4 separate regions of the Homo sapiens genome follow, and regions 1, 2 and 3 are each linked to region 4. The links are contacts of gene promoters, found by promoter capture Hi-C in blood cells and fetal thymus (Javierre and others, 2016). All regions are on one chromosome and are shown on one strand. Each heading gives the region's core, a stretch centred on a gene start or on the middle of the fragment in contact. The rest is flanking DNA. Distances are from core to core; before and after follow the strand shown.

Region 1 (2,945 bases), core at 147-2,646, 140 kb after region 4:
CTATTTTAAAACACTGAAGACATAATACTGGTTTGTGTTGGTCAGGCAGTATTTCCAGAAGGTCATATCCCTCAGATTTAGGCTTTTATTCTCAGATTTTCTGCAGAGGCATTTCTCAGGGCCAATACCTGAACTTCTAGAGTACAGCCAGAGAAGGCCCTGACAGCCAGGGCCTCTTACTAAGCCTCTCTAGCAGGACAGAGGCTACTCTGCCATGAATATAACTTTGAGGTTTGCAAATGATAGGGAGGAAAAAATGTTTCTCTAAAAGCCTCCATTCTGACTGACCAAGTATTCAGGAATGGCAGGACAGTGCATAATTTATGAAGAATGGTCACATTAAACTATGGAGACAAAGACGAATATCCCAAATAATTCCCTAGGGAATTATTTTCATTTCTTCTGTGACCACTTCTACTCTGTCTGCAAATTCTGGACTCACCATTTACCTCAGGGAGATGTCAAATCAGGTCAGAGAACAAATACATCCAATTCTTATCTTTTCAGTTCAAAAGTCTTGATCACAAAATATAGAAAAGAGTTCTATAAGGATCTAAAGTGGTAGAATAGGTTTTTCTTCCTGGCTTCAGATTAGGTTAAGCACAAAAGATCCTCTGGTGCCTGGCAGTAGAGGAGACATTCGTTGGGATCAGCACACCCCCAACACCCTCAAGCTGAGGCTCCCAAGACTCCCAGTGCTGTGGGGTGAATTCTGAGCGCTCCTGGGGCACAGCGAGATGAGGAACTTGGCTAAGAGCAACAATGATCATACTGGCTAGTTTGCACAGAGTCCTGCAGTCACGATGAAGGATGGGTTCCAGACAGATGTGGACCAGCTGGTCTCTTCCAGGATCCTACGACTGATTTCAGTGGATCAACAATACCAGAAAATCCAGGAGGGTCAGTGCCCACAGGTCATGATGTGAGGCAGCACCATATGTTACAGAACAAGACACATCTGGCTTGAAGGCCAGACAGGGAACAGCAAGCAGAAGGCATTCCTCTTTCATGTGACTTCCATTGTGACAATTCTGTAAAAGGCCATTTCATCCTCTACTGCAGTTTTAAATCTAACACATGAAGGTGATAGAAAAACTCCTGGGGGTGTTTTGAAAATTGTATCAGAATGAATTATGAACTAGAATCAACTAAGATCAATGTTAATTGGATTTGGTAGAATGTGGCTGTTGTCTATGACTCATTTTATGTTTATTCAAAGACCCATTCTGGCTGATGTAGAAAAAGCTGAAGGCAATTATAGTTTTACATAACTGGATCTGTGACTAAGTTTTATGCTTGTTATACAAGGAATTATCTAGAGGTATTTTGTTTTTTACCAACACAGAGCTGATTAGGTGGGTGTAACTCTAGTTGAAAAGCCTCAGAGGTACATGAGTGGGTGCCGGGCAGTCAAGGGGAGCAGAGAAAAGCTGGCTCTGTTTATACAACTTTCTGCAGAGAAGCAAATGGAGGGAGCTTTCTAAAGCCAAAACCAGTACATTCATAAGTCATTATGAGAACATTCTCTGGCCTTTCCTGGAATTTGTTCTAGTTACTCTTCTCACATTATCACCACCTCCAACCCCCCAGAGCCTTTTAGTGTATGGTAAGTATTAAGAGGCATGTTTTTATTCTTTGTGTGCCAGGCACTAGAGAAGCATTTTACGTTATCACATCCTTATAAAATATCTGTAAGGGGCTGCCATTAGTTTCATTTCAAGAGGAAACTGAGGTTTACATTATACAACATGTCTGGTCTGACAGATACTGTTTCAGATCCATCTCTGTCTTTGATTTCAGAGCAGAGGTTCTTAGCCACCTGTTAAGAACATAAAATCACAATAATGCCTCCTCTCTCAAGTGTCTCCCAATCTTTGCTTTTTTCCGTGAAAACCTGCAGACTCAAAAGGGGTTGACGGTAGTGTATTTTATTTCCACTTTAAGTCTTAGTGATGGGAAAGAAACATTTGTGTGACAGGGAAATGTGACATTGGCTTTGAATAAGAGATTCAATTGTTGGGCTTGTCTCATTTTTATAATATGCATTCTCCAGTGTATGTTCCCTTCCATCCTGTTTGGAGATAACCCCTTCACCAGGAAGTGGCCTACCCATGACTACTGCTGACAGTGGGACTAAATGCTGTAATGTACTTCAGGTCATACCCCAAGTATGATAGAACTTGTCATGAGTGTTTGTCCCTGGATAGACTAGTAGCATACATACAAGTGATATTTTCTTTATCTGCTATCATTCAACACCATGTGAAGACACTGGAAATGATTGGTATTTGGTCCTGGTCTGTGATAGACCCAGCAGATGATCCAGGGAAAAATACTTTGATATGGGTTTTCTAAGGTTATTCTTTCAGGAAGTTTTTAGTATAATACTAATCCTACTAGTTTTAATTAAGGGCAGGTTTTAAGAGCCCCGCACTATATGCACACTCTGCTTTACATGGTATAAAAAGATTTTAGGCATTATGCCAAAGAGATCTCCTGTGAGAAAAGGTCCTGGTCACTTTCCTCAGCACTGGTGCTACTGTTGGACTTGAGTATCATCTTCTCCAATGCCTGGACTTACGATTAGGAGATCATCTGTAAAATAAGTTTCGGCCCAGACTTCTATTTGGAGTTGAGGAAAAGATACTAATCAGTAGATTACATTTGGCACTAAAATTATGTTCACAGAAGCCTATCTTCTCTCAATAGTTAGATTCAGACATTGGACTGCAGAGACCCTGATAAAGATGGAGGAATGACCACCTCTTATTGTCAAGACGATAGAGAAAATTAAATAAAATGTGACTCAACTTGATCCTGGAGTTAGGCATAGATTGAGGACATAGAAATTTATTAATAGTCAGGGGCTCAGGGGTTTAGGCTAAACTTTAGAAAAGAGCTCATGCAATTACAGTTTCCTACATTTTTGGCGGGGGCAGGGGTGG
Region 2 (2,700 bases), core at 49-2,548, 150 kb before region 4:
TTTATTTATGTATTTTTAAAAATAGAGTTGGGGGTCTCACTGTTGCCCAGCCTAATCAAGAACTCCTGGGCTCAAGTGATCTTGCCTCGGCCTTCCAACGTGCTAGGATTATAGGAGTGAGCCACCATGCCTGACGTCAACTTTTAAATGTGCATATAAATAATTACCAAGAAGTAATTTTAAATTGAAATGTGTAATAATATTTCAGCAAGTTATGTTAACAACATGTATGAGAACCTCACATCCACTATAATTCTAAATTTATTTTATTAGATTATAAGAACTAGTTAGAAACTTATTAAAACATTTTTAAAATGAAAATCAATCTCTATATTTAAGGAAATCAAAACTGTAATTATTTATAAACACTTTGAATTTTTTATGAAGACTTATTAACTAGGTTGTAATGGCTACTTAAAAATGACCGGTAACATTTTTTAGAAAGTTTTAAAAACTGAACTTAAAATATAAGAAATAATAAGATTTTTAAGTATATTTTATTTCTGAGTCAACTGTTGACTTTAAAAAGGGCCGACAACCGTGCAGTGCAGCTTTCTGTAAGAACCTCAATGAACACACATGAGAAAATGTAGCTTAAAAAAAGGTTCACTTTTTAAAGGACATTACTGATGTCCTAAAATATACTAGGTATATATTGTTGCTTGGGTGTTTGAAGTTGTTTGGATGAAATAAACTTGGGTTCAGTCACAGAATACAAGATTGTCTACTGATTTCAGATGATAATGTGTCTGGAGAAGATGAGCCTTCTCAAAGGCAATTGCAGAAAGACAAGATAATTTTGAGGGCAACATTTTTTTTTTCTAGGATGGACGAAAACGGAAAAAAAGTAGTAACAATGAAAAAGATGTTTATAACATTTAAAAAACCCTCAAAACTGACTATAAAGGAAAACCATTTTAACAAAAGCTAAAACTACATGCATTTCAAACTTATGCAGTGTATTTAAGTCACACTGGCCCCTTAGATGTCCCTACAAGCGCTGCAGACGTCGGGGAGGCCTGTGGAGTGACCGGTCCTCACCTCCTCCGGCTCTCAGTGCCCCATCTGCCAGCTGTCACAGTGCTGGTACACTCTAACAAGACCTCCCTGGGGCTCAGGGATAAACAGAGAGAAACACAGTAATACTATGATACTAGAAATACTGGCTTTTAAAGTATGGTACTGTTTATTATCTTACGACAGGAAGTCCTGTCGTATCTGAGATATGGCTCTGAAAGAATTCTTGGTCTAGGTATTTCCCATCTCTAGAGGGCGGTGATATATTTGAAGCAATCACTTAATTACAAGAGCTCTCTCCTCCTGTACCCTGCCACATTTATTGTCAATAACTCAGAATTTCCTAAGTGATAAGGGATGGCTCTCTGTGTCTTCTGACCCCTCAGAGAGCTCACAGTGGTGTCTTTGGATGCCTGCATCCTGTCCTGCCTCCTCCCCGCCTTACCGTGGGGCTCACACAGTCAATGGCCATAGAAGAGCCACTGCAGTCCCACCTGGATTCATAGCACCAGGAAAGGAGCAGGCCTCTTTCAGCCAGCCAAAGAAACACTTACCCCTTATTAGGGAAGCTGCACAACAGACTAAAACCGGATCCAGGAAACAGTGGACAGGGGACTCAGGTGGGTGTGGAGTGTGCGCCTCACTCCCCAGGAAAGCAGCGCTAGGGCCCTTTCCCTCAGAACTCTGTGGCGTGCATTGCTTCTGGCCAAGGAGGGGAAAGTTCTTTCTGGCTCTCCTCAAAGTCTTATTACAGACCTTCCTGGAATTGCTTATACATCTTCTTGGCCCCTTTCAGCTTCACTCTGGTGATACCAGTAGGTCACTGACCCAGAACATGGCCCCTGAACTCTGGTCTTGAGGTGGTGGTGGTGGCGATGGGCTTTTTGGGGTCAACTGACTTTTACTTCCTTCCAGGCAAGGTCACTGAACATGTGAAAATATGCTGGCTTTCCACCTAGTGAGGAGCTACATTATCTCTGAGTGAGAGCAGGACATTTCACCTTTGAAATGGCAAGTGGAAAGAACAGGTGGAGGTAATCAAGGACACACACACACACACACACACACACACACACACACACACACACAGGCTAATGAGGAACAGGAGGAAAAGGGATGGTGGGCAAACAGTGGAGGGAAGTGAAGGGGTGGGTGATGAGGAGGTGAAAGGAAAAAAAGGATCTAAAGGGAAAACTAGAACTGAAAGAAGGCAGGATGCAAAGGGAGAACAGCAGAGGGTGGTTGCCGCAAACACAAATCCTTCCCACACTTACCACACACACAGGCCTTTCTCTGCATTTGCTTCCCCAAGCTCTTCATGGTCATCTTCTTCCTGTGGCTGAGGGCCTTGTCCCAGGTCTTCATCACCTCGCCCCAGGGTATCTGGGAGGACCTCTCCATGGATGGGTCCTTCAGGAGGAACCTGAGTTTCTTCTCTATGTCAGCTCCTCCAGATTCTGTAGCAGTGGCTCACACAGGTGCTTTGGCCATGCCTTTCCAAGGTTGGCCATAGGCACTAGAGTCTAGAGGGAACAGAAGAAACAGCAGAATGATTTAGTAGAGAAGTCACCCTCTCTCTAGTCAGAGAAAGGGCTTCTGGAATCAGCTGTGTGACTTCCTTCTCTCCATGCCCTCTGCCATTTTCCTGACCCCACCTGGGTTACCAAACAGGCTCCTGACTGG
Region 3 (2,700 bases), core at 139-2,638, 170 kb after region 4:
GGGTGCAGCAAACGAACACAGCACATGTATACATATGTAACAAACCTACATGTTGTGCACATGTACCCTAGAACTTAAAGTATAATTTAAAAAAATGAAAGTGGGACTGAGGAGGTTCAGAAGTCAGTTATGGAGTTGAACGGTTTGTCTGCAGAGTCTAAGTCTTCTCCATGGATACCAGAAACTGGGATGAAGTAGAAAGCTTATCCAGGTAGAAAAATCCTCAATGATGTTCTTCCATAAGTTTCAACATGTCTTTAAGTAAGGAGGAATAAAAGGGTGACATTTGCAGCTAATGCCATATGGTCATGAGCTTTTGACAAAAGATGGAAGAACAAAACTCTGGAAACAGTAATAAGTAACCCCAAACTTATCTGTTTTGTATTGAGGTGCATGAGACAGAGATTGACCACCATTGAGGGCTAAGAGTAAGTACTGTTCTTGATTAAAAAGCTCCCCCTTCCCCCACTGTTGTAGTTTTGGAATGTTTGACATTTTATAAGTATTTATGGAAGAGTTCCAGAAAGTTGAGAACACAGTACACGCAATGTAAGGAAGATGTAGAATTTGAACCTAGGGCACACAAACCCAAAACTTTTGCTTTTAACCACTGTGGAAATCTTAGGCAAATTGCTTAGACTGTACTTCACATCTCTGATCTGAGAAGTGGAGATTAAAGAAGTTCACATCTCATTAAAAATTAGCTGGGTGTGGTGGCATGTTCCTCTGGTCCCAGCTGCTTAGGAGGATGAGCTTCAGCCCAGGAGGTTGGGGCTGTGGTGAGCTATGTTCGTGCTGCTGCACTCCAGCCTGGGCAGCAAAGTGAGGCCCTGTTTCAAAAACAGTTGTTCTCTCATAGGGTTGTTCCTGCAGAAGGTAAACTCACAAAAGCAATCAGACATTACATAAAGAAGACATTTGTATATACGTTTATAGCAGCCCAATTCACAATTGCAAAAATGTGGGACCAGCCTACATGTCCATCAGCCAACAAGTAGATAGAGAAAATTGGTGCGTATACATACATAATATGGGATACAACTCAGCCAGAAAAAGGAGTGAAATAATGGCATTTGCAGCAACCTGAATAAAGTTGGAGACCCTTGTTCTCAGTGACAGTAATTCAGGAATGAAAAACCAAATATTGTATGTCCTCACTTATAAGTGGGAGCTAAGCTATGAGGATGCAAAGTCATAAGGATGATATAATGGACTTTGGGGACTCCGTGAGGAAGGATGGGAGGGAGTGAGGAATAGAAGGCTACACACTGGGTCCAGCATTTACTGCTTAGGTGACAGGTGCACCAAGTCTCAGAAATCACCACTAACCCATGTAACCAAAACCCCCCGCTTTCCAAAAATTATTGAAATAAAATAAATGAGACTTAGGAATGGAGATCGGGGTGAAAAAGGAAGTCTAAAGATTTAGGCATAACTTGGTCAAAGACAAATCTTGTAAGTGTCAGAACTGGCACTGGGGCTGTGGTCTATACTCAACCATGGCAGTATACCACTTCTGTCATGGACAAGAATGAGCTCAAGTTTGATCTCAGAGCCAGAATCCTGGATGTACTTCTTGTGAGGCTGGGAAGGTGGCTTTAAGAAAAATGCTTTCCCTATTATAGCATCAGTATTCCCATTTGAGGGAAATTCGCAGGCTTCAGAGATGTATATAAGTCCCTCAGTTGGTATTTATATCTCCATGTACTCCAATTAAGCATCTGGGCTAACAAGTTTAGAATTTTATTCTAGAATTGAACATGAACAATGTTTATTTCAGAGAAATTATAACACTGAACTGATAAAGTTATAGACTGAGAGTCCAATATTCAATATTCAACTTGTTGTTGTTGGTATTGTGTTGGTCTGACTTTTCATCTTTGATTGACCCACATATGGGAGACCTAGCTATAAAATAGGATTGAATGGGAAAATCTGAGTAGTTGCATTCAAATGAAGGTTTAAGATATTTAACGACACCAAGCTCTATGTTTGTGTTGCAGAGCCCCGTCAGCCAGTGGCATAATCTCATTTGGGGGCCAGGGTGCCCTCTCCTGGACAGTGTTAGAATGGGGACAGTGTTAGAATGTCAATGTTTGCTTCTGATTCAGATCTGTTTCCAAGACTGAATATGTATCTCTTCTGTGTAACTTAAGATATTTTCCTATAGTGAAAGGTAACACTTTTTCCTGCACATCTGAGGCATATCTCCCTTAAGTTGGAACAATGAGGTTTTGAAAGTTTGTGCATCAAATTAAGGGATGAGGACTTACTGTAACCTTAAGGATAATTCAACAAGTACGTTGGTTTATTGGCTACTTTTAGTTTTCAAATGTTGTACAAGGCATCCAGATACAGAATAGACAGATACTAAGTTTGTCAAAGCAGAGTTTATCCACTGGAGGTGGTAAATGCTAGATATGAATCTGGATATGAATTTCAAAATCTAGATATGAATCTGTATAGACTGACAGCCAAATAAAAAAGTAGGACTAAGGGTACAGCATACATGCAGGATAGAAGGATCCTGTATATTTTGGCCACTACCAGCAATTTCACACAGAATGTAAAATGTAAGCTTGGGGAGCAGGTTGCAAGCTTCTGGAAGTTCCCAGCTTCTCCCGAGGTTCTATAGAGTTAGAACCCTCTGAAAGGGGAGTGGAAGTGAAAATGAGATCCTTCACATAATGATTCTACTGC
Region 4 (2,700 bases), core at 55-2,554:
CTGTTAAGGATACATGACTTCTGAAAAATCAATCTATTCTCTCTCAGGCTCTGTGCAGGAGGTAGTTTGTTCAGTCAAACATTGCATTGCTTTCCTAGGTTGTTTAAAAAATGGAAGAATAAGCCCTGTAACTTCCCAGTTGACCTTGCTCCAGACATCGTACTCACTGAGTTATTTCCTACGGTATCAGCTGACCTCTCCCATCTACCACTTTCATACCCACTTACCAGATAGCTAGAGATTCTGAAAACTCAGTTCTTAAACCAAAGTTATTTCTGTTTTATAAACAAAAACTGAACCACCTGTTCCTGGATTTGCTTGGTTTTGATCCCATAAATAATGGGATTCAGCATAGGTGGAGCCAGAATGCAGACATTAGCCAACGGGATGTGGATACAAGGTGGAATGTGGCGTCCAAACCTCTGGGTAAGGATTGTGAAGATGCCAGACCCATAAAAGAGGATGATGATGCAGACATGGGAGCCAAATGTGTTGAGAGCTTTGTGGCAAGCATCTGGAGAAGGCATGTGGAAGACAGCATGGAGAATCAGCATATAGGAAATAAAAATTAGTACAACATCTAAGACCACCGTCGACATTAGAATGGAAAACCCATACCAAATGTTTATTCGAATGTCATTACATGCATATTTGGCTAGGCCAATGTGTTCACAAAAGGTGTGTGGAATAATATTATTCTGGCAGAAAGTCAATCTTTTTAAAAGAAATATGATAGGGAAAATTGTACCATAACTTCTCAGAGAGACAGTCACACAAATTTTCTTGATCAGAGCATTTGTAAGAATGGTGGTGTACCTCAGTGGGTAGCATATGGCAATATAGTGGTCAAAGGCCATCACCAGCAAGATCCCTGACTCAGAGATGAAGGTGGAATGGATGAAGAAGAGCTGAGTGATGCAACGATCCAGGGAGATGTCCCCAGCACGGAACCAGAAGATAGCTAAGGCCTGAGGAATGGTGCACGTGGAGAGGACAATGTCTGCTCCAGCCAGCATGCAGAGGAAGAGGTACATGGGTTCATGGAGGCTGCGCTTTGTGAGGATAATGAAGATGAGCAGGCTGTTCCCAAGAAGGGCGGTGACATAGGAAATGAAGAATGGGATAGAAATCCACATGTGCTGGTCCTGTAGGCCAGGGATGCCCAGCAAGTGGAAGACTGTGTGGCTAGTGCCACTGTGGTTTACAGTAGGCATAGCTGGGGAGAACTTTCAGAACCTCACCTCCTACTCACAGAGGTAGAAGAAGATAAAATCTGCAACATTCTTTGCGATGTCACCAGGAGCTTATGGCATATTCCATAATCTTCGTCTTCTTTGAACATGTAAATAACAAACATGCAAATATGAAAGGTGGTGGTCTATACTCTAATGAATGACAGCCAGACAATATCTCCAAGTAATCAGAATAAGAGACATTATTGTATGCGCTTTAATTATGAATGGAGGATTATGAATATACAGAGGAAATTATTATTTCTGTGTGGGAAAGCTGAATAAGGTGATACTTAAAATTGAGTAGTTTATCGTAAAGTTAATAATGAAGAGAGAAAGAAAGTAGCATAAGAAAAGGTGAGTGTACAGATCAATGCACAGTATGTTTCTGAAATATTTTCAGGCCAGGGTGGCTGGTGCATAAGGAGTACTGAGGAGAACAAGGGAGGTGATGGTATAGGCAGGTTTTTCCTGAATGTGAAGGGCTTCGATCACAACTTCACTCTTAGGCCCCATCCTTTACACAGGGGCAGTCATTAGTTTAGAAAGATGATCTGTTGATATTTGTTGGAACGTTGATTGATTGAAGACACTAAAGCCTAAAAGGCCAGTGGTGTTCCAGGAGTGGACAAAATCTTATTGTATTACAGTCGCAGGAGAATTTAGCTAATGTTTATTAAGCATCACTTTATGCCACGGGCTGTAGTTTGCACTTTGTACGTTCTTAATGCAGGGAGTAGACATCCACTCTTAGAACTGGATAGTACCCCTATTTCACACTTAAGGAAAGTGAGTCTTAGACAATGTGAATAACTTGCCACTTGTCACAAAGCAGCAATTGATAGAAATGAGATTTGAAACCTCTGACTTCACCACATACAGTTTGCTCACTTATGAAGAGGGTCAAGGTACCTCTTTATCTGAGATGAGGCACTCTTTGTGCTCACACCCCAGGGAACTAGGCTTAGAAGTGACTGAAATTAGGTAAAGAGTTATTTCTGGGGGATGAAGAGGGGTTGCAGTTCTTGATATTTGAGAAATTCTTCTGCTGGTAGAAATGAACATGTAACTTCATCATTTACTTCCTAGAATATTCTTCTTCACTCATTAGTGGATTCATTCACAGGCATATTTTGAGCATTGACTATTTTTTCCTGCATCATGCTATGTGCCTGAGTCCTAAATAGCTTTATGGTTTCAGAGAATGGTGGGCTTGTGAGTAAATAGATTTACTAAATGTTCCATGTGGAATGGCTTCAGAGAGTGCCTTCTGAGAAGACAGCCATATTGAATCCCATTTTCAATGGAATGAAGAAATGGCAACAAATAATAAAATACACTCTTCATGGGGTTTCTGAGGATATTAAATAAAGGAATATCTTAAAATATTTAGTTGTTGGCTAAGATATATCTTATGATCAGTAATATTTTTTCTTCCATTCTAGTTCACACTCTTGGTGCATCCTCT

What was found. The method cuts DNA at HindIII sites, captures the fragments that hold promoters and counts their contacts. A CHiCAGO score of 5 or more calls a contact.
Region 1: a contact is called between a fragment that was not itself captured here and the fragment with the promoter of OR52B4 in region 4, in 5 of 17 cell types (monocytes, neutrophils, M2 macrophages and 2 more). The highest score is 8.6, in monocytes.
Region 2: a contact is called between a fragment that was not itself captured here and the fragment with the promoter of OR52B4 in region 4, in 4 of 17 cell types (monocytes, M2 macrophages, M0 macrophages and 1 more). The highest score is 6.3, in monocytes.
Region 3: a fragment that was not itself captured here is called in contact with the fragment with the promoter of OR52B4 in region 4 in 2 of 17 cell types (monocytes and M2 macrophages); the score reaches 6.3 in monocytes.

What each region holds. Positions count from the first base shown.
Region 1 is chr11:4,510,638-4,513,582 of GRCh38, forward strand. No RefSeq gene overlaps it. Among named protein-coding and RNA genes, the nearest start is that of OR52K1, 29 kb to the left of the region's middle. The HindIII fragment of the contact is 4,695 bases long and covers 1-2,945 here.
Region 2 is chr11:4,212,725-4,215,424 of GRCh38, forward strand. No RefSeq gene overlaps it. Among named protein-coding and RNA genes, the nearest start is that of SSU72L5, 19 kb to the right of the region's middle. The HindIII fragment of the contact is 2,918 bases long and covers 1-2,700 here.
Region 3 is chr11:4,537,764-4,540,463 of GRCh38, forward strand. No RefSeq gene overlaps it. Among named protein-coding and RNA genes, the nearest start is that of OR52M1, 6.1 kb to the right of the region's middle. The HindIII fragment of the contact is 2,376 bases long and covers 201-2,576 here.
Region 4 is chr11:4,367,082-4,369,781 of GRCh38, forward strand. OR52B4 (olfactory receptor family 52 subfamily B member 4) reads right to left here and starts at 1,305. Exons shown (of 1, transcript NM_001005161.3): 1 at 182-1,305. The coding sequence starts at 1,214. The coding sequence ends at 270. The HindIII fragment of the contact is 6,509 bases long and covers 1-2,700 here.